Regions from separate parts of the Homo sapiens genome. Here regions 2, 3, 4, 5, 6 and 7 are each linked to region 1. Evidence: promoter capture Hi-C in 16 types of primary human blood cells and fetal thymus (Javierre and others, 2016). All regions are on one chromosome and are shown on one strand. Each heading gives the region's core, a stretch centred on a gene start or on the middle of the fragment in contact. The rest is flanking DNA. Distances are from core to core; before and after follow the strand shown.

Region 1 (3,689 bases), core at 49-2,548:
CCCCAGGGGAGAGAAAGCACTCCTAGCACCACAAACCATCACTAAATTTACATTTCACTCTCAAGTGTCAAAAGGAACTGTTACCTTTGGACCCTTGTCAAATGCGAATTTATGACATCTGAATCAATATTAGACAAATATAGAGCTGTTCAAATCTCCTCACTTTAAGACCCCATCCCTCCCCCAGTGCCTCCCTCATGGTTGTGAGTTGTGCCTGAATACTCTTCATCTGTAAGAGTTTCACTTCTGCACCTTCCCGTTGGTTAATTCGTTCAGCACAACGGTCCAGACTCACCCACCAGTCACGGACACACTGGGCAAGCCTGGTTTCAAGTCAGGGATCACCTCTCCAAAATGGGCCGCCCAGCTTATCTCTGAAGGCCAGCTGGATTCTCGCCTCAAAACCCAGGCGGTGGGTGGCAGTGTTTCAACTGCTCAGTCCAGCCAAACATCGAGAGTAGCCTGCGCACTCCCAGAAAGGCCACCTGCTTCCGACACGTGCCTTTGCTACCCATCAAGGCGAGGCATGCTAAGGCCCTAAAGAGCTCGACCAGGCATTCTGCGGGCAGAAGTTCCACAAGTTCCTGCACGCGCACATCCCCCATTTCATGTTAGTGGAGTATGCCCAAGTTCAGTTTTCCTGCTTCCACAAAGGAGAAAGAACCTACCATCACTCTTTCATGGGGCACGAGAATAAGCACATGGTTTTTACTGAGCGCCTATCATTTTGCTATCTATGGTCTAACGATACACTTGTGAAGGAAGAATTATTATTAAAATGACCCACAGAGATTTAATAAGTTGCCCAAAAGCTTATGTTAAGTGTTGAGCTGGCTAGAGACGAGCCAGATCCGTCTAAATCCCAAGGGTTAAACAGTATGAAAAAGCACACAGGTGCTTCTGCTGGTTATACCCGCCTCCACGAGAAACGCTACAGGTTTTCAAGGTGAACACCCTTGCTCCGGCCCCTCCAGGCACCGTGCGGATTGGCAGGGAGGCCTCGGACGCCGCAAGCCGGGCACGCAGTGATAGGTCGCGGACGCCAGGGGCGGGACTCACTTAGGCCCCTCAGGACTCACTCGCTTGTGCTGCGCGTCAATACGGCGTTGGCCCCCTCCCAGCAGCGCGGTCCGGCGCTTGTTTTCGATGCGTTCGTTAACAGAGGTGGCCTGGCTGCAAAGGCTGCGGACCGCGGCGCGGAGACCGCTCGCCAGAACGCTGAGCCTTGCCCCGACCGCCGCCACCCGTAATGCCGCCGCCATTTTTGCTGTGCCGGCGCGTCCCCTACCGGCGCACCTGAGTACGCATGTGCTAAAGCGTGGGTACGGCGCTTGCGCAGCATCGGCTGGCTGTAGGGAGCCGCGGGGGCTGGACTACAGAACCTGCTTGGGAGTAAGGCGTGAGAGTTCGAGACCCGGTGCTGCCCGAGGAGGGTCGCGCAGAGAAAAAGTACAGGGCCTGCCTGGCTGCACAAAAAAGGGACATAGTCCTTGCTCTTCTCTGACCACCTAGACCCTTAACTTTGTCGTCCCACTTCCTACAGAAAATGATTATAAGATTTAACCAACATTTATTAAGCATTGTGCCAGGTGTTGCTTTTTGCACTTACCATGCACTAGCTTACTATCTGGATTTCACAGATGAGGTAAATCAAGCACAGAGAGATGAGTGATTTGATCAAGAGGCAAGACTGAGGCCGAGGTAGGTGAGCCCAGGAGCCCAAGACCAGCCTGAGCAATATAGTAAGACCCCACCTCTACAAAAAAATTAAAAATTAGCTGGGCATGGCGGCTTGCACCTGTGACCCCAGCTACTCGGGAGGCTAAGGCGGCAGGATGGCTTGGCCCAGGAAGTCGAGGCTGCAGTGAGCCGTGATTGCATCACTGCACTCCAGCCTGGGCAAAACCCTGTCTCAAAAAAAAAAAAAAAAAAAAGCCAAGACTGACAATGTGGTTGGCCAGGATTCAAACTCAGAGACCTATCATTAATATGTGCCAGATAATGAGCACAGGACCCTTAACCTCTAATCAGTAGTTCTCAAAGTATGGATCCCATTAAAGAAAAAACTATTCATGACACTTAATTATTCATGTTTAAGAATGGTAAGGCAAACTTTATTCAGGCCCAATCTGACAGAGGTAGGGATAGAGTTTTGCCATAAGTCAGAGCGATTGGGCTGAATATAGCAAAGTGGTAATTTATAGCTAAGGGGCAGTGTGTGGAAGTCAGTGGATGGAAAATTACTAAGAGGAAACATTGGCGGGGAATCTGGCTAAATTGACCTAACAGGATTCCTGCCCAAGGCAGGTCAGGGTAACTGAACATCACCTGGGGGATGGTGGCGGTATGGGTCAAAACCAGATATGGAGAGTAATCAGATATCAAGAATGGAGGATTCTGGCTAAACTGACTTGGCAAGTTTCTTGCTAAAATGGAATTCCACAAGGAATGACATGGGAGCCCACACTCAGGCCTAGTCAAAGAGAGAGCTCAGAAGAGCCTGACCAATGTTTGATCAAGGAGGGAATCTTGTCAATCCAGCAACTTCAGTATCACCTGGGAGTGAGTTGGAAATGCAAGCTCGAATTCTCAGAACTTACTCCAGACCTTTAAATCAGAAACTCTGGGGCTGGGGCCAGCCATCTGTTTTAGCAGATGACCTTTAGGTGATTCTGATCTGCTTGCTAAAGTTTAAGAACCACTGCTCTAGGAATTTGGAATTGTACTGTTGAGAGCTTGACCATCTGTTTCTCCCACTAACAGGCAGGTCTTCAAGACAAAGAACATGGTTTATATTTCTCATTTTTAGCCACAGAAAACTGCTAAAGTTGATCATGAGCCCTTCCCAGATCCAGCTCATAGCCAGGGCCTTCATAAAGTACAAATTCTGACCTATGACCTTAATGTTAATGCAATTCAACTCAGAAAACATTTTTGAGCACCTACCATGTGCCAAGAACTAAACATCAGTACTGATTGCATTTCCTGGAGTAGTAACAGTTCATCTAGATAGAGAGGGCAGCTTAGAGGCCAAAGCCTCTTGGCTAGGCAAAGCCCACCTGTATCTGTATAACTCCGTAATGGGTACTCTTGACCTTGCATTTGGGTCCTTGCTTTAAAGACTTTACCAACCTAGAGAGGCAGATGGACAACCTAGAGAGGCAGATTGCCTTGGGAGCACAAGAGAGAATTTGAGTAAGGCTGAGTGTGTTGAGGAGAGTTTCTCCAAGAAAGCATCCATATGCCAGGGAACAGAAGCAGTGTGAGCAAAGGCCTGGCATGTTCAGATTCACATACACAGACACACACACATACTTTGTTGTGTTCCCAGCTTTTGGGGAAATGGTGGTAAATGAGACTGGAAAGTGAGAATGGCATTAGATTGTGAAGAGTTTTTTCATGTTCAGAAATTGGGACTTGCTTTTGGCCTGGGGGCAGTTGGACTCCCTTGTCCCACAGTGCCTTGTAGGTTCCTTACATAAAGCACATCTCACACTGTGTTAAGATTGTTTAGCTGTCTTCCTAGACAGACTCTCCAGCCAAAGGTCAGGGACTGCAGCTGATTTGCTCACCACTGTGGTCCCAGCACCTGGAACAAGGCCCAACGCAGAGAAGGCCTTTAGAATGTATTTGTGAAATTGAATCGAGCTAGCAAATAGGCAATTGCATGTGAGTCCAGAGGTTTTCGC
Region 2 (3,569 bases), core at 29-2,528, 640 kb before region 1:
ACCTGGGAGGCAGAGGTTGCAGTCAGCCAAGATTTTGCCACTGCACTCCACCCTGGTGACACAGCGAGACTCCGTCTCAAAAAAAAAAAAAATTCTGATATTGTGGTGATGGTTGCACAACTCTGAATATACTAAAAGCTGAATTGTATACTTTTAATGAGTGAACTGTATAGTATGTGAATCATATCTCAATAAAACCTTTTTTTAAAAACCGACAAGACTAATGACTGAATGGAATCATAAAATAAAGCAAGGAGGGCCAGGCACGGTGGCTCACACCTGTAATCTCAGCACTTTGGGAGGCCGAGGCAGGCAGATCACGAGGTCAGGAGTTTGAGACCAGCCTGGCCAACATGGCGAAACCCTGTCTCTACTAAAAATACAAAAATTAGCCAGGCGTGCTGGCAGACGCCTGTAATCCCAGCAACTTGGGAGGCTGAGGCAGGAGAATAGCTTGAACCTAGGAGTCGGAGGTTACAGTGAGCAGAGATCATGCCATTGCACTCCAGCCTGGGCGACAAGAGCAAGACTCCATCTCAAAAGAAAAAAAAAAAAAGAAAGAAAGAAAGAAAGAAAAGAAACAATAAAGGCGATGAATAAAAGATAACAAGAACCGAAACATTACAGTTTGAATTCTTGCTCTGTCATTTATCATCAGTGTGTAACACTGAGCAAGTTATCTAACCTCTCTGCTTCAGTTAACACCTACCTACAGGGTTGCTGTGAGGATTTAACAAAATAGGTAAAACAGTACAGTGCCTGAGACACAGCTGTCTTTCCCTGTCCTCTTCTCCTACCTAATGCTAAAAATTCTACCACCAATTTTATGGAAACATAAATTCAATGACAGTTGTATCTGAATTGTATGCTAAAGAAGTTATGTCTGTTCCAGGTGACAAATAACTTAAAAGTCACCAATTATATGTAACTGGCAAGGCAACTTTCAACTAATTCACTGCAAGTCGATACTAAGGCACAGGAAAATATAAACTTTATCTCTCAACTTCTTTTTCTCCTTCTCGCCTTCATTTTTAAACACTTCTTTCCTCACCTTCCTGCCCTTTTAACTTATCCTTTATTCCAAACTACCAGTCTTACTTAGGCTGCTATTTATCAGGAGAAAAGGCAACAGTAACTTTTCCATTTTATGTTAAGATAGAAAAAAAATGCTGAGCATGGCGGTGCACTCCTGTAGTCCCCGCTACTCAAGAGGATAAGGTGGGAAGATCGTTTGAGGCCAAGAGTTGGAGGCCACACAGCATTATGATGGTGCCTGTGAACAGCCACTGTACTCCAGTCTGGAAAACACAGTGAAACCTCATTTCTAAAGAAATAAAACACAATATAAAAGATAGGGGCTGGGTGCAGTGGCTCACACCTGTAATCCCAGCACTTTGGGAGGCCAAAGCAGGTGGATCACCTGAGGTCAGGAGTTCGAGACCAGCCTGGCCAACATAATGAAACCCCGTCTCTACTAATAACACAAAAATTAGCCGGGCATGGTGGCACCTGCCTGTAGTCCCAGCTACTTGGGAGGCTGAGGCATAAGAATCGCTTGAACCTGGGAGGCGGAGGTTGCAGTGAGATGAGATTGTGCCATTGCATTCCAGCCTGGGCAATAAGAGCAAAACTCCGTCTCAGAAAAAAAGAAAAAGAAAGATAGGAAAAAAAAAAAAAAAAAAGACTGATCATGTAACTACAGGACAGTTCCAAACTCTGCCTAAGTAACTCATTAAAGTTCCCTAAACAAAAAATGAACGAACTTTAAAAACATGAGAATGAAAAGGCATACAAGAAAGTTTCCTTTGTGTTCACAGGTCTCTCATTTATCTGGAGACAAAACTGTATGACATCTACAGACTGTGACAGCAATTTCTTAGTACAGTTGGCCCTCTGTATCTATGGGTTCCGCATCTATGAATTCAACCAGCCGTGGATTTAAAACATTCAGGAAAAAAAAAAGCACCTGTACTAAACATATACAGACGTTTTTTCCTTGTCATTATTCCCTAAACAATATAGCATTAACTACCTAAATACCATTTACAATGTATTAGGTAATCTAGAGATGAGTTCGAGTATACAGGAGAATGTGCATAGGTTATATGTAAATAGTACCCCATTTTACACAAGAGACTCAAGCATCCTCAAATTTTGGTATCTGCAAGGAGTCTTGGAACCAACACCTCATGGATACCAAAGGACAAGTATATACTATCCATAACCAAGTTTTACTGCAAAAGAAAAAAAAAAGGATAACTATATACTACCTATAGCCAAGTTACTACCAAAAAATATATACTTTAAGTCAGGTGCTCTAAGAAATTAGTGTTAATACAATTTTATTAACCCATGCTTCCATCTTAAGTATTCCCTCATTTGACTTTAATGTTAAATGAAAATTTAGTTTCAAACTACTTTAAAGGACAATGTCTTTCAAAGGGGCACCTGCCTTATAAATGCTTCCGGAATAACATTCAGTAAAAGGATGTGGTTTAGAACAGATGAAATACCACTGTACTGCTGCTTTTGTACACGTTCAGATCAGAAAACTCCTATTAAAAACATGCCAAAATAAATAAATATTATGTCTATGGAAGCTTTTAAGTTAGCCATTCCAACTTTATAACATTCTAAAAAGAACATATCTCTTATGAAAGGTTGCTATAAAGAGCCCAGAACCTTTTCTCCCTCTACAAACCCCTTAACCTTGATGCCTAACTGTATTATCTCACTGTATTTCACTTCAGAAATATTTACTGGACAATGAGTGCACAGAGTAAGTATGCTAAGTAGTTTTAATACACTGTCATTAATCACCACAGCAAACTGATACAATCAGTATTAATATCACCATTTTTAACTGAAGAAACTAAGGCTTCAAAGGTTTAAGTACGCTGGGTGCTGTGGCTCACACCTGTAATTGCAGCACTTTCAGAGGCCAAGGTAGACGAATCACTTGAGCCCAGGAGTTGGAGGCCAGCCTGGGCAACATGGCAAAATCCTGTCTCTACAAAAAATTCAAAAATTAACCAGCCATGGTGGCATGCACCTATAGTTCCAGCTACGTAAGGAGCTGAAGAGTTATCAGGCCACTGTACTCCAGCCTAGGTGACAGAGCAAGACCCTGTCTCAAAAAAGTTAAGTAATGTGCCCTAGATTACAGCTGGAAAAGACAATTCCCTCCTTTTATAATTTCTATTATGTAAAATTTCAAACATACATTAAAGAAGAGAACAAACCCCTTAAACCCATCATGTAGCTAAAATCATCAACTCATGGCCACTTGTCCACGGCCACAATATCCATATTCTCACCCATTCCTGTTTCCTTGCTTAAGTATTTTGAAGCAAAAAACTTTTGTCTGTAAATATTTCGGTGTATACCTCTAAAAATTTATGTAAATATTTCAGTGTATACCTGAAAAAATATTTTCATCCATAAATATTTAAGTAAATATCTCTAAAACATAAGAACTTCAGCAGGCGCAGTGGCTCACACCTATAATCTCAACACTTTGGGAGGCCGAGGTGGGCAGATCACTTGAGGTCAGGAGTTCAAGACCAGCC
Region 3 (3,781 bases), core at 687-3,186, 710 kb before region 1:
TCTCAGTAAACTATCGCAAGAACAAAAAACCAAACACCGCATATTCTCACTCATAGGTGGGAATTGAACAATGAGATCACATGGACACAGGAAGGGGAATATCACACTCTGGGGACTGTGGTGGGGTCGGGGGAGGGGGGAGGGATAGCATTAGGAGATATACCTAATGCTAGATGACACGTTAGTGGGTGCAGCGCACCAGCATGGCACATGTATACATATGTAACTAACCTGCACAATGTGCACATGTACCCTAAAACTTAGAGTATAATAAAAAAAAAAAATAAAAAAAAAAAAAAAGAACTAGTATCTAGAACACATAAAAAACTCTCAAAACTCAGCAGTAGAAAAATCAAACAATCCAATCTAAAAATAGGCAAAGGACATGAATAGACATTTCACCAAAGAGGATATATAGATGGCAAATAAGCACACTATTAGCTATTAGGGAAATCCAAATTAAAATCACAATGAGATAGCATTACACAGTTATCAGAATGGCTAAAAGTTTTCAAAGTTACAAAACTAAATGCTGGCAAGGATACAGAACAAGTGGATCACTTATACATTGTTGGTAGGAATGTAAAATGATACTCTTTTTCAAAATAGTTTGGCAGTTTCTTGTAAAACTAAACATGTAGTTACTATATGATCTAGCAATTACACTCTTCAGCATTTATCTCAGAGAAATGAAAACTTTACATCACATAAGACCTGCACACAAATATTCACAGTCAAGCTGGAATCGGCCCAGATGTCCTTCAACAGGTGAATGGTTAGATAAACTGTAGTACATTCATACCATGGAAGGGGGAAACAGATTCTCTAAAACCTCCAGAAGGAATGTAGTCCTGCCCATACCTTGATGTTAGCCCAGTGATATGATGAACAGATTAACTGTATTTTGAAATAATTTCAGACTTTCAGAAGAGTTGCAAAATAATACAGAGAGCTCTCATATACTCTTCACTCAGCCCTCCATATGTACATAACCATAGCACAATTATAAAAAATTAAGATATTAATATTAATGCAATATTATTAACTAAGCTTCAGTATTTAATCAGATTTCATCAGTTTTTCCCCTAATGCTTTTTTTTTTTTTTTTTTTGGCCAAAATCCAATTCAGGATTTTCATTTAGCTGTCATGTCTAGTTAGTCTCCTCCAAACTGTTTTCAGTCTGTCTTTGTCTTTTTTAATGACCTTGAGTTTTTTGTTTTTTTTTTGAGATGGAGTCTTGCTCTGTTGCCAGACTGGAGTGCAGTGGTGCAATCTCGGCTCGCTGCAACCTCTGCCTCCCAGGTTCAAGCGATTCTCCTGCCTCAGCCTCCCAAGTAGCTGGGACTACAGGCGCCCACCACCATACTTGGCTAATTTTTGTATTTTTAGTAAAGACGGGGTTTCACCATGTTGGCCAGGATGGTCTCGATCTCCTGACCTCGTGATCCACCTGCCCTGGCCTCCCAAAGTGCTGGGATTACAGGCATGAGCCACCACGCCTGGCCGACCTTGACATTTTTTAGAAGTACTGGCCAGTTGTTTTGTAGAACGTATCTCAGTTTGGTTTTGTCTGATATTTTCACGTGATTTGATTGAGGTTACACATTTTTTCCAGACACTCACAGGGAGTACATGATATCAATACGTCTTATTACTGGTGATGTTAACCACCCTGATCACTTGGTTAAGAAAGTGTCTCTACTGTAAAGCTACCATTTTCCCCTGTGTAGTTAATAAATACCTTGGGGGAGATACTTTGAGACTGTGCAAATATTCCATTCCTCCTCAAACTTTCACCTATTAATTTTAACATCTACTGATGGATATTTCTTGTAATAATTATTGCTGTGATGTTCTAGTAGTGATATTTTATTTAATTGTATTCTTTTGTTAGGAAGAGCTGTTCCTTCTCCACCATTTATTTATTCAATTATTTATTTTTAGTGGTATGGACTCATGGATATTTTAATTTATTCTGTAAAGTCCAACACTATTGTTATTTTATTATTCAAATTGTTCTAGCTTTTGGCCAATGGGAACACTTTCAAGCTGCCTGTGCCCTTTTAACTTGTTCCCACCCGTTTTACTCATGTTATTTTTATTAATAGATTTTTAAATTTTTGGAATAATTTTAGATTTACAGAATAATTGCAGAGATAGTACACAGCATTCCTATACATCCTTCACCCAACTTCCCTGAATGCTAACATCTTATGTAACCATAATACATTTGTCAAAACTAAAAAGCCAGTACTGGCACATTATCATTAACTAAACTCCAGACTTTATTTGAATTTCACTAGTTTTTCCACTCAGTTCTTTCTTCCATCCCAGGCTCCAATCCAGGATACTATGTTAATTGTTAACTTAGGCCCTCATCCTTTTTTAATCACTTCATTACTTACCACAAAATGCTCTTGTCTCATCTTGTTTTTTCCCTGCCCAGCCCTGGAATCAATCACTTCTCTAAGGAGCCCCACCCACATTGTTTTGAAAAAGTCCCAACATCCAGACAGCACCCTAGATTAACTCAGAATCTCTAGCTGTGAAGTCACGGAATTTAGCTTTTAAAAAGTTCCCCAGGTGATTCCAATGTGCATTTGAGGTTGGGAACCACAAATCTAGACTTTACTTCTGGTGGCTAAAGAATAGTTAAAATTTTGTTAAATTCCCACATGCCAAAGACTTTAGTGTACTTCCCAGCAGGCTCTTAGGCTCCCTGAAGACAAGTTTTTAAAATCTCTCTAACTAGCACACATCCCAGAACCTGGTACATAAATGGTGTTAAAAGAATGAAAGTTAAACAAGTAAATTAAGCTTTGGCTTCCTTGGGGAAATTAGCCTAGGTCTAACTCTTTTCTTAATCCCTCATTCGTCTTTAAATTAGACCCTTTCTGCTGCTGAACACCTATTTCGTAAAACCTTGAGTGAGTCAGTCCAAGGGAAGTAGCATGAAGGCTACCCACCAAAAAGCCCTGGGGCAACCTTTCCAGGCAAAAATCTTTGCATCTCTTCTCTGAAGGACGCTCAGTGGGCCTGATGTCCACTCCCTTTATTTGGATCCTCTTCTGCCACCTTTACCTCTATCAGCCTTTAAGGCTAATGCATTAGAAAAGGTAGCACCATCTTCTTTATTTCCTTTCCTTTGTCCCTCCTCCCTTCTTCTACCTTGTTTTAATGTCTCAGCTTTTTCTGCAGAGATATATAAAGGGCACAGGCTCTGGAGCAGACCAAACCATCATCAAATCCCAATTCCTGCACTTACTAGATATAGGTACTTGGACAAATAACTGAACCTCTCCTAGTCTCTATCCCTAATGTGTGGAATGGGGATAACACCTAACTTGCAGGATTCATGTGAGAAGTCAAGATAACATTTTTGCTAACTGAAGGCACAATGTGTACTCAGAAATAGCAGTTGTGATTGTCATTGTGATTATTACTATTGGTAGCATAATCAGCTTTCTGAATCACACACTATTATTTGGGAGGGACAGGACAAGGCAAATGATTTCTATGAAAGACAGCCATGGCCGGATGTGGTGGCTCATGCCTGTAATCCCAGCACTTTGGGAGGCCGAGGCGGGCAAATCACAAGGTCAAGAGATCGAGACCATCCTGGGCAACATGGTGAAACCTCATCTTTACTAAAAATACAAAAATTAGCTGGGCGTGGTGGCGTGTGCCTGTAGTCCCAGCTACTCAGGAGGCTGAGGCAGGAGAATCGCTTGAACCTGGGTGGTGGAGATTGCAGTGAGCCAAGATTGCGCCACTGCACTC
Region 4 (4,043 bases), core at 1,502-4,001, 770 kb before region 1:
CTGGATAGTGGCAGCCACCAGGCTTGTCTCCGTTCCTCAGATCCTCCTTTGCTTTTGGCCCTGCCCTCTAAGCCAAAATTATCTAGACCCAGGACAGACATCAACCCATGAGCTGGCTCAAACAGATTCTCTTTCAAAAGAATTTGAACCAAGGGGCCCAGATCCAGAAACTGGTTACTGGTGGAAACCTGGAGCTGGGAAGGTCACGAAGCTCAGGGGCTGGGTTGGAAGGGGATCAGTGAGGACCTTCTTCCCTGAGAAAGAACAGGGAACAGCATAGCAGTAAGAATGCAGGGCAGCCTGTAATCCCAGCACTGTGGGAGGCTGAGGCGGGCAGATCACTTGAAGCCAGGAGTTCGAGACCAGCCTGGCCAACATGGTGAAACCCGGTCTGTACTAAAAATACAAAAAAATTAGCCAGGCATAGTGGTGCACCTGTAATCCCAGCTACTCAGGAGGCTGAGGCAGGAGAATCGCTTGAACCTGTAACTGTGGAACATGTGTGTTTAGCCAATCCTTTCAGCATAAAGCTCCTATCCCAACCCCTCCTTCTTCAAAGTGCCTGTCTCTGGTCTTGGCCAGAGGCAGGCTTTCCAGCCTGTGGGATGGCCACCTTGCAAGCTGTAACCTTTTATAAGAAATTTAGAAAAGTCCTATTGAAAACTTTTTTTTGAGTCCGAATCTCATTTCTACATGTTGATCCAAAAGATCTCTCCTTTTCTAAATTTATAAATTTTGGCGTTTTTTAAATAAGTTAACAATATGAACTGTAAGTTTTCAGGGCATTTCAAAGTGTGCGTGTGTATGTGTGTGTGTGTGTATACTTGCATGTGTGTATATGTGTGTATTGATGTATAAGTGTGTTTATATATGTGTACATTTATATATGTATGTATTTATGTATGAGTGTGAATGTGTGTATATGTGTATGTGTGTATTTGTATGTGTGTATGTGTATGTGTGTATATGTATGTGTGTATGTGTGTATACGTATGTGTGTATGTATGTGTGTGAGTGTGTTCGTGCTCTGACTGAAGTTAAATACTTAAATACTCTTGGAATTAATGACACTTATTGCCCAGTTTGTCAGCTTTGTACAGGCTTATTATGAAGTTTGAGTTAATTTATTTCTTGAAAGAGAATTTTCTTTTTGATCAATGTTGTGGAAAAATTTTTTTTCAGCAGGACTTTTACTATTAACTTAACGATCCCCATGCACTAAGAAATGAGGGGGACTGACCACCAGCCAGCAGCCGGAATCCATCAAACTTCAATTCCTAAGCATCAGTGTTATGGGTCCTTCTAGTGCAAGAGTATAATCAGTTTCCCAATTTAATTGTGATATTTTATGTGGCATTGTGTGACTCAAAGTCGCAACTTACAGGGTCATTCCACTCATACTCCCCTTGAGCTATACAACTTCTTCTGACTGATGTATTTGTGTTTCCTAGTTTTTGTTTTCTTCATCTACACAACAGACGAATCACTAACACCAACATAATACCAACATGCCAACATGTAAATGACTTGGCAGATCCTCTTTTTTTTTTTTTTTGAGACAGAGTCTCACTCTGTCGCCCAGGCTGGAGTGCAGTGGCGTGATCTTGGCTCACTACAAGCTCTGCCTCCCAGGTTCACGCCTTTCTCCTGCCTCAGCCTCCCGGGTAGCCCACCACCACGCCCGGCTAATTTTTTGTATTTTTAGTAGAGACGGGGTTTCACCGTGTTAACCAAGATGGTCTCGATCTCCTGACGTCGTGATCTGCCCTCATCGGCCTCCCAAAGTGCTGGGATTACAGGTGTGAGCCACCGCGCCTGGCTGACAAATCCTCTGTTTTTTTCTCCATTTTCTCTTACTACTCGTAGTCTTTTGCTCCTTTTATGTATCATCTTGGACTCATGGCTTCTCCAATCCACCATATGCCCATTGGCTTCAGCCGATACTCTCCTTTTGACATTCAAGTTGCCTCAACTTTGGCCAGCAGAACCCCTTTTAGATGGCTCCTCTGTCCTTTTGACTCTACTAATTTATTCAAACTTTCTTGATTTCTGGCCTTGTTGTTCAGTGTTTAGGATTTCCTTGAATTTCCAGCTCAAAGTATGGAATATGCCATTCCTCCCAAGACGCTTTTGGTAAGAAGAGCATTAGAGACCAGAATGTGGGTGCCAAAGTGCATTGTGAGGTGACATGGCTCCTGGGCATTTCAATAGACAGAGAGACAAAGGATACGTATTTTTAATTTACTATTTTTGTTCTTTTAAAAGCTTGAATTTATCTTGATTTTTTCAGTCCAGTTCTAACAATAAAGTGTTCCTCATCAAATTATTTTTTTACTTTTTTCTTTTATTTTTAGCTGACACATAATAATTGTACATATTTATGGGATAGAGTGTTTTTCTTTAGAAATTTTAGTTTTATGAATTCCATTAAGGTATTTTTTGCTTGGTTTGAAACATCAGTGCCATTCTGGTTTTATTTTTTTTTAATTTTTTATTGATAAGTCATAGATGTACATATTTTCAGGGTACATGTGATAATTTAATACGTTCACCTCACTGGTAAAGATTAAATCAGTGTAATTGAAATATTCATCACCTACTCAAATTCTTGATTCTGCAATTGTAGTTCCTCTTCTCCTATGCTAAGAAGTCTAGATTTCTAACAAAATAAATGATCACTTATTTGTCTGGAAAAATTAGTTCTAAAATAATATTACAACATTAATGCAAATTTTCCAATTATCAAATACAGCTCAACTTTTCTAATAGTTCTTTTTTGTTTATTTTTAGACGGCATTCCACTAAGGATTTGCTAAAAATCTCTTTGCTCTAAACTCATTCATAACCTCTGACTCTTTGGCTCTGTATAGAGCTTTGGCTCATCTGTTCTCGTTTGTTTGCAGTTTGAGAGCCCTGGCATCAGAACAGCTGACAGACCAAAGCTCTAGAGGGGGGTGACTGGCAGCCACCAGGAAACAGGGGATCCTCCCTACCGTGAGGTGATAGAGGAGCCTCCAGCAGCGCAGTGGCCAATATTCTGCATGACGGTTGTGTTTCTCCATCTACAATGGTTTAATACATGGGTATAATCCAGATTGGCACACATGATTTCTGGCTGAATTAGCCAGTTTTGCCCCTGACATTTTATCTATCAAACCCATGTTACTTTCACAGGTTTAGGAGTTTGTTTGTTTTTTTCTTTTTCTTTTTAATTCTGTTCTTATCTTCCAAGCTTTTAATTTATCTTGCTCCTTTTTATGAGCTATAGGCTCTCCCTCCTTTTATAATATTCTACACCCCCTTACCAACCTAATATATCAGGTATGTGTTATTACATCAAGATTTTCAGTGAAAAATCAAAATGGTTCTCCCAATCAGTAGTTTCTTGACCCAGAACCAAAGTTTTTTATTTTCTCACAGGAGGATCAGATTCTTTATGATTAGCCAAGAATAGTAGCTATAAATGCAGTATCTTAAGATTTTGGCCCAAACTCTCTTTTGACTTATGAATAAAAATGTAGACTTTGCTTCATATATATTGCTGTCATCCTTATTTTAATTACAGACCAATAGAGTGTAGATTTCCAAATTCTCAGAAGTCTTTGGAAAACACAATTACCAACTACCTTAACTCTATAGAAAATTCAAACTTCCCAAGGTGAAATGAAAATGCCATAACAATACAACCAGATATACTTCAATAAAGTTTAAATTAAAAATACATAAGCATCCCTAACTCATTTTATGAGGCCAGCATCATCCTGATACCAAAGCCTGGCAGAGACACAATAAAAAGAAAAGAGAGAATTTTAGACCAATACCCCTGATGAACATCAGTGCAAAAATCCTCAATAAAATACTGGCAAACCGAATCCAGCAGCACATCAAAAAGCTTATCCACCACGATCAACTCAGCTTCATCCCTGGGATGCAAGGCTGGTTCAACATACGCAAATCAATAAACGTAATCCAGCATATAAACAGAACGAAAGACAAAAACCACATGATTATCTCAATACATGCAGAAAAGGCCTTTGACAAAA
Region 5 (3,613 bases), core at 152-2,651, 670 kb before region 1:
GGGAACTGGAATCCCATGATTTCATTAAGCACTAACAGATTAAAAACCCATACCCCTCAAAAATGAACAAATCAAGGGCTCCTGACCTTTTCCCTTTTTTAACCCATATATGCCGGAGGTTGCAATTTCTTGTGTGAAAAATCAGACCTTGGTGACGACCTTGAGCATGATATAAATAACTCTCACAAGCTTAGCGTTCCAATAATGGAACACTAGGCACAAATGGGTTAAGCCATGGACCTCCCCTCCTCCTGCCTAATGGCAGTGTGGTGAAACATAGAACCTCTACTCACAATGTTTCTGATGCATAAAAATATATAAGATTGCAAACAAGTCAATTATACTAAAATTAAATTATCAGTATATTTTCAAAAGCTCATTTTGAAAAGGTGTTCCTTTATTAAGAACTCCTGCAACACTTATTTCATCTAATGCTAATATTCAATTTTTGCTAAGTGTATTTTTTTAAACATTCTTACAGTTGGTGTGAACTGGGATCCAAACTAAGTCGATATATTGCACTTAAGCTAACATGTTTTAAGTCTCTGACACTGTTCTCTTTCCCCACTCTATGTCATTTATTTAAGAAGCTGGCTTCACTTGTCCTGTAGCATTTCCCACATCGTGAATTTGGCTAGTGTATATTTTCATGGTGTTCCTCTATCCCCCCTATCTCCTATAAACTGGTAATTATTTCTAGAGGCTTTACTTTTTCTAGGTTGTTTTGTCATTGTTGCAAGAATAATTCGTTAAGTATTCTTGTGTACTTGTTATTGCCATTTATTAGGAGGCACATTATGTCTGCCTGAACCATTTTCTGTGATGTTAAGACTGAATGGTAGATTTGTAGCACTGAACTGATTTATCCATTATTATAAAGTTCCCCCATCAAACCTCTACCCAATGGTTTTACCTGCCACTGATGATCACTGCCTAGATCAACTATTTCAATAATGATGATGTGCTAGCTCTACCTGCTTTCAGAAACTGTGATTATTCTCAAAGGAAAATTTTGCTTATTGTTCTATTACCCTAAAACATAAAACCTTACAGAAAAGGTAGAATATATACTTCTGTGTGGTTATGACACCAACTGGACGTAGAGTTAGGCTCACTTGTTTTCATTTTTTGAAGATCACTTTATTTTCCCTTTTTAAAATGTAATTGTTTCATAATTATGTAAAACATTTGGATGGTTCTAAAAGCTAAACTATCAAGCAAGGTAGATGTTTAAATATCAAACATGTTTGAACATTATGTTTAATATTGTTTATATGAATGTTTAAACATTAAATATGCTTAAATATCAAACATATTTAAAACATTTAGAGAGGTCTTCTTCCATACCTTCTCTTTTCTCTCCCCTCTCCCATCCACCCCACTGGACAGCCATTTATTTATTTATTTATTTATTTATTTATTTATTTGAGACGGAGTCTCGCACTGCACTGTCACCCAGGCTGGAGTGCAGTGGAGCGACCCTGGCTCACTGCAACCTCCGCCTCCCAGGTTCATGGCATTCTCCTGCCTCAGCCTCCGAGTAGCCGGGACTACAGGTGCCCGCCACCATGCCCGGCTAATTTTTTTGTATTTTTAGTGGAGACGGGGTTTCACTGTGTTAGCCAGGATGGTTTCGATCTCCTGACCTCGTGATCCGCCTGCCTCGGCCTCCCAAAGTGCTGGGATTACAGGCGTGAGCCACCGCGCCCGGCCTGGACAGCTATTTATTTGTTTTGGTTTATGTTTCTATTTTTTTTTAAATAATTTAAGGAAAGTATTCAAGAAAAATATATAAGAAAATTGAAAATTCTAATTTTTATCTACCCCCACAACAAAACATACACACACACATGCACACAGGCGCGCACACACACACACACATACACATAGGCATAGACTATATTGCCTGAATCTTTTCATTTTCAGTTTAACAATCTATCCTTAAGATCATTCCACAGCAGCACATGAGACTTCCTTTACTAATACATCTACTACTTCTAACAATTGCAGAGTGCGTCATCATTATGTAAGTAGCACTTTCTTCAACTAGACCTTACTGATGGTCAATGGGTTGTTTGTAATTTTCTGGGATTAAATAGTGCTGCAATGAACAGCCTCATACATGTGTCATTTTGATTTTCTGTTAGTGTACCTTTGGGTTAGAATCATAGAAGAATGCTGAGTTACAGCTAAAGTTTGTATAATTTTGTGAGATACTGCTAAATTCTGTATTCATAAACTATTTTTAAAAACTCCTAACAATATATCAGTGATTATTTCCCCACAGCCTTGCCAACAAACTATGTTGTCAATCTTTTGGATTTTTGCCAATCTAATAGGGGAGAAATAGTATTTCAGAGTTGTAATTTGTATTTCTCTTATTACAGTGATTTCTTTTCCCATATTTAAGGGACATTTACATTTGTTTTTCTGTGTAAAGTGCTTGTTCATATCTTTTCCCCATATCCTAGAATAATGACTCCAACTCCATCAAGTTCCTTACCTGAAAAGGCTCCACATGGCCAGAATTTACCGTTTGTTCCAGCCAAAACCTGGTGATAGGCAGATGGTCACCTGAACCCCCATTTAGAGCAGTTACCTTAGAAAGCTTGAAATTATAAATCCTTTCTCTGTCCCTTTGTGACTTAAATCTTCTACCATCAAGAACTATCTTCCCAAGGACCTGAGAACTACCTCTTTGGAATGCAAACAATCAAAAAGATAACTTTCACTTTTGTTCCCAGTCCCTGGCGAGAGGGTAAGGGCCAAACATTGGTGGGCCTAATTTGTACCACCACCTCCTGTCATAAATAATAAGTTTGTTTCTCTTCCAGATAAATGCCAATAACAAACCCAGATGGCCTACTCACATGGACCACCTATTGCCCTTAAAAACCACTCAGTGGCCGGGCGCGGTGGCTCACGCCTGTAATCCCAGCACTTTGGGAGGCCGAGGCAGGCAGATCACGAGGTCAGGAAACTAAGACCATCCTGGCCAACATGGTGAAACCCCGTCTCTACTAAAATACAATAAAATTAGCTGGGCGTGGTGGTGCGTGCCTGTAGTCCCAGCTACTCAGGAGACTGAGGCAGGGGAATTGCTTGAGTCTGGGAGGCGGAGACTGCAGTGAGCTGAGATCACGCCACTGCACTCCAGCCTGGTGACAGAGACAGACTCCGTCTCAAAACAAAACAAAAAAACCATCTTTCTTTCCCTTAGCAGTGTCTTTCCCTTAGCATACTCAACCTTTAAAAAAGTCTCTTCCCCTTTTGTTTTGGCAAAAGTGAGTTGAGTTCACACTGGACACTCTTCCCTACTGCAATAGTTACTGAATAAAATCTGTCCTTACCATTTTAACTAGTGTCCAGTTTATCTTCGACATCTATAATTCTAGTTATGGACCAACACAAGTACTGGGCTCTCCCAAATTGGACATGCATAGAATATCCAAAGAAGCATCACAAAGGCACTAAGAAATGAAGTACAATATAAACACCACTCAAGCCCCACACATCCCTGCATAAAGCAAAGATGCAAATACCACAGCAAAAGTTTAGAAAATGAAACCAATATTGGAACTACTGCCCACAGTTCCTCCGCTTCCTAGATCCT
Region 6 (3,657 bases), core at 414-2,913, 750 kb before region 1:
ACCACCATGGCACATGTATACCTATGTTTCAAACCTGCAGGTTGTGCACATGTACCCTAGAACTTAAAGTATAATAATAATAATAATAAAAGATTATTACTTGGTGATATAAACTTTAATGGAAAAAATTCTTAATGTCATATTTCAGAGTGCAACCATCACCTACTATAAAATTTTAGACGTAGACATGAAATGTTTCGTCCATACAGATAAATTAAACACAAACTCAGTAGACCCTTTTGAAGAATTGTCAAGGATTTCTGATTGGTAATTTTCCATGGTTTAGTTGGAAAGATGAGTTGACTTTGCAAGGATGGCTAGAAATCACTTTTTAATAGTTTGGGGTAGTATCTGTAAGTAACACACATGTAGAAATGCAGCTAGGCTATGCTAAAGTCATAGCGGAGAGAGGGGAGGTGGCAGTATTGATTCACAGCTCAAGAATTTGTGCGGGATTCAATGGACGCTAGTGATCTGCTTCTCACACAGCACTGTGGGGAAATGCATAGACTCAGAGAATTTGTCCACTTTAAAAATCTTAGCGTGAAGTAAGGATAAAAGTTAAAAGCCTTACGGAAGGGAATGCACGTAGGAACAGACATCAGAATGATGTAGGAAGAATGGTAACAGAGAACAGGGAAGCAAAAGGTAGTCAAGGGTAGTGACGTCTATCTGCCATGGATGAAATTGGTCATACTGTCACAGAGTCTTCCAGTCTCTGGTCTCATCTAAGCTATTTCGTTTTCTCCAAAAGCTGATTTTAGGGTGTGGCTCATGATACATCAGGATTCCTAGGAGATCTTAGCTGTTGAGGACTCTTCTTGTGTACCTGAAATCCTGTAAGTTATTAACCCTTTACATGGTTCTTTCCCTGTCTCTTTACCCTGTTCCTCACTAACAAGGCACTGGGTCTTGGGAAGATCTTCATTCCCCTGATCTTGAGGTAGAGAGAAAAACTCTTCTGGCCCCCTGATAGAACTAGTAAAGAAAACATAAGAGAGAGTGTTAAGAGTGTAGTTGCCTGTAAGAGTAAGCATGGGCAGCAGAGTTCAGAGAGAAATCACAACAGAAGACCATCTGATGGAGCCCAGCTGAGGAAGGCTGAGCTTTTCACCACGTATGAGAAAGAAGAGCTATTGATATGCCTCAGCCAGAAATGCTCCCTACCATTACCATCGCTTTGGATTAGGTCAAGGGATTCCTCTTTTATTGCAGGTTTCTACTTCCACTTATGTCAGGAGAGCACCAATCAGACCAACACTCCTCAGATTACAACTTTTAAAACTGACCCAAATATTAAAAACAGATTCCTTAAATCATGGTAGAGCAACTAAAAGTTCATGCTTGGAAGAAGGGAATGTCACTGGGTGAGTTTCCCATTTTTCACAGCTCCTTGCCTAAAGGCAGGTCCCACTTGGTGCCATAGTCTTACTGTTTTTGAAAAGCCAAAAAACAGAGACTGGTGCAAACACAGAAGTTAGAAAGTAAGAGGAAAAATCCCAAAAAGGAGAGAGCCAGAAAAGGGGAGCTGCAATTCTGTACATAAATTCTGCCCAAATATCTGATTGACCTTTGAACTGTGTGAGGTACAGGTGTGGGGAAAGCTCCTACCAGTCTGTCTAAGGCTAAACAGTCTAATAGATATCAACTGCCTACTGCATAGGAGACCAAAGTTGAGTCTTTCTTCTAAACTAACTGCTTACTAAAGCAAATAAACAAACAAAAAAAATCAATAGTTTTCAGAGGAACATAACTGAATCCAAAATCTCTATAACATATTGTTGGCAATATCCAGACTGTAATCCAAAATCACTAGACATACAAAATATAGGAAAATGTGACCTACACCAAATAAAAAACGATCAATAGAGGCCAACCTTGACATGACCCACCTGGTGAAATTAGCAAAGATTTTAAAGTAAAGCAGACAAAGGTATTTATAATGATGCTCAAAGACAGAAGAAAATATTCTCATAATAAATGACCAAATAGAAAATCTCAGCAGAGAATATTTACTATAAAAAAGAAACAAATGGAAATTCTAGAATTTAAAAACACAATATCTGAAATTTAAATACAAAATTCACTAGACGTGCCTAAAATCAGACTGGTGATAACAGAAGAGTCAGTGAACAAGAAGATAGGTTAATAAAATTATTCAATCTGAAGAATAAAGAAGAGGAAAAGAAGTTTTTTATAAAAATGAATGGAGTCTCAGGTATCTATGGAGACAATATCTGAAGGTCTAATATAAATAAGATTGGACTCACAGAAGGAGAGAAGAGAATGAGACAAAAAAAAAAAAAATACCTGAAGAAATATGGGCTGGGAGCAGTGGCTCATATCTGTTAAGCCCAACACTTTGGGAGGCCAAGGCGGAAGGATATCACTTGAGCCCAGGAGTTCCAGACCAGCCTGGGAAACATAGGGAGAACCCCATCACTACAAAAAAATAAAATAATTAGCTGTGGCCAGGTGCAGTGGCTCATGCCTATAATCCCAGCACTTTGGGAGTCCAAAGCAGGAGGATTGCTTGAGCCAGGAGTTCAAGACCAACCTGGACAACATAGCAAGACCCTGTCTCTACATAAAATTTAAAAATTAGCTGGTTGCTCTGTCACATGCTTGTAGTCCCAACTACTCAAGAGGCTGAAGTGGGAGGATCACTTGAACCCAGAAGGTCGAGGCTGCAGTGAGCCATAATCATGCCACTGCACTCCAGCCTGAGTGGCAGAGTGAGACCCTGTCTCTAAAAAAATAAAAAGAAAAAAAAAGGCTGAAAATTTTCCAAATTGTAGCTTAAAAATATATACATGTACAGATTCAAGAAGCTCAGTATACTATAAGCAAGATAAATATAATGCAAACCCCATCTAGGCATGTTATAATTTAACTGGTGAAAGCCAATGGTAATTTAAAACCAGCAAGAGAAAAAGAACACATTTCACATAGGGGAATGATGTTAAAAAAATCATGGATGTTTTCTTATCAAAAACAATGTAAGCTAGAAGACAATTAAACAATACTTTTAAAGTAGTAAGAGCTGGGTGCAGTGGCTCTCGCACATGTCATCCCAGCACTTTGGGAGGCCAAGAAAGAGGATTGTTTAAGCCCAGGAGTTCCAGACTAGCCTGGGCAACATAGCAAGATGCCATCTTTATTAAAATAAAATGTTATTATTTTTGAAATATTATAATTAATATTTAAAATGAAAATATAGTAAGAAAAAATTGCCAACCAAGAATCCAGCAAAAATATCCTTCAAGAATGAAAGCAAAATAAAGACATTTTCAGATAAAAAAAATCAAAGAGAATTTGTCACTAGCAGATCTACATTACTAAACCTATAATTAAAAAAAGTCAAGAAGTTTTATAAAATGACAGGAAGCCCACACCAGATGGAAATAAAGATCTCAGAAAAGAAGAAAGAGTTCCAGAAATGGTAAATATGTGGGTAAATATAAAAGATTATTTTAAATACCTTAAAAATATATATGACTATATAAAGCAAAAATTATTCCAAAATTCTTACATTTCATGTGAAATGATATAATATTAACTCTAAGTAGACTGTGAAAAGTTAAGAATATGTATATTGTAACTCTTAGGACAACCATGAAAAAGTAATGTGAAGAAGAATAACTAAAAAGTCACTAA
Region 7 (3,629 bases), core at 1,112-3,611, 690 kb before region 1:
TTTCTGGAATTCAGGCATTACAATTCCAACTGTCACTAGACACCCACAGATTGTGCCATCAGTACCTCAAACCCAACACTCATGTCCAAATAAAAATAATCCAGTCTATACCCCTAAATCAACTTCTTCCTTCCTAATTTTCTTACTTCCGGTTAATGATAGCCTTCAGAGAAATCCCTACATTTGGGGTGATACCACCAAAAATAGTAGAGTAAGGAACTCCAAGGCACTGTCCCTGCAAAAAGCAATGAATGCAATTAATGAGCTGGTAAATACTGTCAGACTCAACTTTTGCAGAACTCTGGAATCTAGTAAAAAAAAAAAACTTATAAAATCTAGGGCAAGGCTTGGTAAAGAAAGAAGTTGCTGCTTTGTGGTAAAGAGAGTGCTATCGCATCCTAAGTTGCCTGCCCACCATCCCCCACACCCCAAGTCAGTGATGGCTGTGTGGACAGTAACCTGCACTCCTAATGCCAGAGGAAGCAATACAGATCTCATTCTTAAACAATTGTGATTGTGGGTTTCAACTTGTCTGGCAGCTCCCTGAAGGACCTGAGCAATGGCTTGCCTTGGCTTTGCCTGACTTGAATCATTCCCAGGCATAGGGAGTCTTCCTGGGTGGTTTTTGCAAAAATCATTTAATGGATGCAGCAGCCTGGGGCAAGGGACAACAACTGGGACAAGGAACAGACAGATGGAAAAGCCTGGACAGAAAGGGGATGGGAAAGAATATACATGGGGTAATAAGGGGTGTGTATACCAATCAAGAAGGACGTGCACATGGCCAGGGCTGGATGCACATTCAGGAAAGGCCCAAGAAGACCCTAAGCTTTCACCCTGGCTGATCTTCAGGCTTTGAGCAAACAGTAAGCAAAGGCTAAGGCAGAATTATAAATGGCATCACTAAGTGGTCAAAAACTGCCCCAACATAAAGCCATCTGTAAAGATGGGGAGAGGTTTTCTTTTGTTTGTTTGTTTTTTCTTTTGGCTCCAGGTGTTTAACGAAACTCTGTTAAAACCCTAGCTGATTACTAAGCAAATGGAATAGACTTCAGCGGCCCCACATGACCAGGAATATAGAGCTTATAAAAGTAGTTTAGTAAAGTCACTAAACAAGCAAACAACAACCACTCACAATAAGCAGCAGTAATAAGCCCTGGGGAGGGGATAGAATCTGATCTGATGCTGAAAGCAAAAGAGCCAACAAAGAATTCTATATTTAGCAAAACTGTCCTTCAAAAATGAAGGAGAACATAAGACATTCCCAGATAAACAAAAACTAAAGGAATTCATCACTACCAGACCTGTGCTAAGAAATGCTAAAGAGAGGCTGGGCACAGGGGCTCACACCTGTAATCCCAGCACTTTGGGAGACAGCGGTGGGTGGATCACGAGGTCAGGAGATCGAAACCAGCCTGGCCAACATGGTGAAACCCCGTCTCTACTAAAAATACAAAAAATTAGCCGGGCGTGGTGGCACACGCTTGTAGTCCCAGCTACTCGGGAAGCTGAGGCAGGAGAATTGCTTGAACCCGGGAGGTGGAGGTTGTAGTGAGCCAAGACCGCACCACTGTACTCCAGCCTGGGAGACAGAGCAAGACTGTCTCAAAAAAGAAGTGCTAAAGAGAATCCTCCAGGCTAAAATGAAAAAACACTGGACAGTAATTTGAAGTCATATGAAGAAATAAAGAACAATGGTAAAGGTAGCTACATAAGTAAATATAAAAGTCAGTAGTATTGCAGTTTTTTTTTGTAAATTCTCCTTTTCTTTCCTACACAATTTAAAATACAAATGCATAAAACAAAAATTTCAATTCTAGGTTAATGGGCATATATTTTAATGTGTAAAGATGTAATATACAAAGATGGAGCTGCAAAGGAGCAGAGTTATGCATAGTACTGAAACTAAGTTGGTATTAATTCAAACATGATTGTTAAAAACCTAAGATGTTAATCCCCAGGGTAACCACTAAGGAAAAACAAAAATACAGAAAGAGAAACAAGAAGGGTAATAAAACAATATATTAGAGAAAATAGTCCAGTCACAGAGGCTCACACCTGTAATCCCAGCACTTTGGGAGGCCAAGGTGGGCGGATCACTTGAGGTCAGAAGTTCAAGATCAGCCTGGCCAACATGCTGAGACCTCGTCTCTACCAAAAAAATACCAAAAAATTAGCCAGGCATCGTGGCATGCACCTGTAGTCCCAGCTACTCGAGAGGCTGACATATAAGTGTCGCTTGAACCTGGGAGGCAGAGGTTGCAGTGAGCAGAGATTCCACCACTGCACTCCAGCCTGGGTGACAGAGTGAGACCCTGACCCCCACCCTCCAAAAAAAAAAAAAAAAAAGAAAAAGAAATCACAAAAGAAGACAGTAATAGAAGAATTGAAAGAAAAAAAAGTAAATGAAAACAGCAAAATAGCAGAAATCCTTCCTTATCAGATATAACTTTAAATGTAAATAGATTAAAAATAACATGATGCAACTGTTATCTGCAAGACACTCACTTTAGATCCAAACAAAGATGCAAATAGGTTTGAAAATGAAAGGATGGAAGAAGATATCCCATGTAAAGGATAACTGAGAGAGTGGGGTGGCTATATAAATATCACACAGCATAGGCCCGGCGCGGTGTCTCATGCCTGTAATCCCTGCACTTTAGGAAGCCGAGGCGGGTGGATCACTTGAGCTCAGGAGTTCAAGACTAGCCTGGCCAACATGGTGAAACTCCGTCTCTACCAAAAATACAAAAATTAGTTAGGCATGATGTCAGGTGCCTGTAATCCCAGCTACTCAGGAGGCTGAGACAGAAGAATCGCTTGAACCTGGGAGGCGGAGGTTGCAGTGAGCCGAGGTCACGCCACTGCACTCCAGCCTGGGCAACAGAGCGAGACTGTCTAAAAATAAATAAATATATATCACACAACACAGACTTAAAGACAAAGGACAGCATATATTGATAAAAGAATCAGTCCATCAAGAAGTGTAACAGTTACAAATATATGCATACCTAACAAGAGAGCCTCAAGGCATATAAAGCAAAAAATGACAGAATTGAGGGAGAAAAATAGTTCAATATACTTGGAGACATCAATACCCCACTTTCTGTAAGGGACAGAACTAAATGAAAAATCATTAAGGAAATAGAGGCCTTGAGCAGTACTATAAACCAACTAGACCTAATAGACATATAGAGAATATCCCATCAAACAAAAGCAGAATATATCACACATTTTTCTCAAGTATACATGGAATATTCTGCAAGATAGACCATATATTAGGACACAAAACAAGGCTCAATAGGCCAGGCACAGTGGCTCAAGCCTGTAATTCCAACACTTTGGGAGTCCAAGGTCGGGGGATCACTTGAGCCCAGGAGTCTGACGGCAGCCTGGGCAAGATGGTGAGACCTTGTCTCTACAAAAATAAAAAGTAAAATAAAATAATTAGCCAGGTGTGGTGGTGCATTCCTGTAGTTCCAGCTACTCAGGAGGCTGAGTTGGGAGGATTGCTTGAACCCAGGAGTTCAAAGGCTACAGTGAGCCATGATCATGCTACTGCACTCCAGCCTAGGTAACAAAGAGAGACCCTGTCTCTATTTTAAAAAAAAAAAAAAAAAAAAAAAGGC

What was found. Contacts are between HindIII fragments. The CHiCAGO score rates a contact against its expected background, and 5 or more counts as called.
Region 2: a fragment that was not itself captured here is called in contact with the fragment with the promoter of PCCB in region 1 in 11 of 17 cell types (non-activated CD4 T cells, neutrophils, naive CD8 T cells and 8 more); the score reaches 13.5 in non-activated CD4 T cells.
Region 3: a fragment that was not itself captured here is called in contact with the fragment with the promoter of PCCB in region 1 in 6 of 17 cell types (fetal thymus, neutrophils, total CD8 T cells and 3 more); the score reaches 10.7 in fetal thymus.
Region 4: a contact is called between a fragment that was not itself captured here and the fragment with the promoter of PCCB in region 1, in 17 of 17 cell types (non-activated CD4 T cells, fetal thymus, total CD4 T cells and 14 more). The highest score is 18.1, in non-activated CD4 T cells.
Region 5: a fragment that was not itself captured here is called in contact with the fragment with the promoter of PCCB in region 1 in 10 of 17 cell types (total CD4 T cells, non-activated CD4 T cells, naive CD8 T cells and 7 more); the score reaches 11.1 in total CD4 T cells.
Region 6: a fragment that was not itself captured here is called in contact with the fragment with the promoter of PCCB in region 1 in 2 of 17 cell types (neutrophils and naive CD8 T cells); the score reaches 6.6 in neutrophils.
Region 7: a fragment that was not itself captured here is called in contact with the fragment with the promoter of PCCB in region 1 in 4 of 17 cell types (total CD8 T cells, naive CD8 T cells, total B cells and 1 more); the score reaches 7.7 in total CD8 T cells.

What each region holds. Positions count from the first base shown.
Region 1 is chr3:136,247,949-136,251,637 of GRCh38, reverse strand. It overlaps PCCB (propionyl-CoA carboxylase subunit beta), which reads right to left and starts at 1,298. Exons shown (of 15, transcript NM_000532.5): 1 at 1,080-1,298. The coding sequence starts at 1,262. RefSeq lists enhancers at 824-873, 1,504-1,563, 793-1,659. The HindIII fragment of the contact is 10,493 bases long and covers 815-3,689 here.
Region 2 is chr3:136,884,931-136,888,499 of GRCh38, reverse strand. All of the region lies in intron 1 of NCK1 (NCK adaptor protein 1), which reads right to left. Among named protein-coding and RNA genes, the nearest start is that of NCK1, 25 kb to the right of the region's middle. The HindIII fragment of the contact is 2,649 bases long and covers 1-2,602 here.
Region 3 is chr3:136,960,197-136,963,977 of GRCh38, reverse strand. The region is part of intron 1 of IL20RB (interleukin 20 receptor subunit beta); the gene reads right to left. The region is part of intron 2 of IL20RB-AS1 (IL20RB antisense RNA 1); the gene reads left to right. Among named protein-coding and RNA genes, the nearest start is that of IL20RB, 4.1 kb to the right of the region's middle. The HindIII fragment of the contact is 1,768 bases long and covers 1,053-2,820 here.
Region 4 is chr3:137,019,413-137,023,455 of GRCh38, reverse strand. No RefSeq gene overlaps it. Among named protein-coding and RNA genes, the nearest start is that of IL20RB-AS1, 39 kb to the right of the region's middle. RefSeq lists an enhancer at 1-388. The HindIII fragment of the contact is 967 bases long and covers 2,268-3,234 here.
Region 5 is chr3:136,921,374-136,924,986 of GRCh38, reverse strand. All of the region lies in intron 1 of NCK1 (NCK adaptor protein 1), which reads right to left. Among named protein-coding and RNA genes, the nearest start is that of IL20RB, 35 kb to the left of the region's middle. The HindIII fragment of the contact is 2,419 bases long and covers 192-2,610 here.
Region 6 is chr3:136,998,208-137,001,864 of GRCh38, reverse strand. The region is part of intron 6 of IL20RB (interleukin 20 receptor subunit beta); the gene reads right to left. Among named protein-coding and RNA genes, the nearest start is that of IL20RB-AS1, 18 kb to the right of the region's middle. The HindIII fragment of the contact is 6,892 bases long and covers 1-3,657 here.
Region 7 is chr3:136,939,837-136,943,465 of GRCh38, reverse strand. The region is part of intron 2 of NCK1 (NCK adaptor protein 1); the gene reads right to left. Among named protein-coding and RNA genes, the nearest start is that of IL20RB, 16 kb to the left of the region's middle. The HindIII fragment of the contact is 3,059 bases long and covers 832-3,629 here.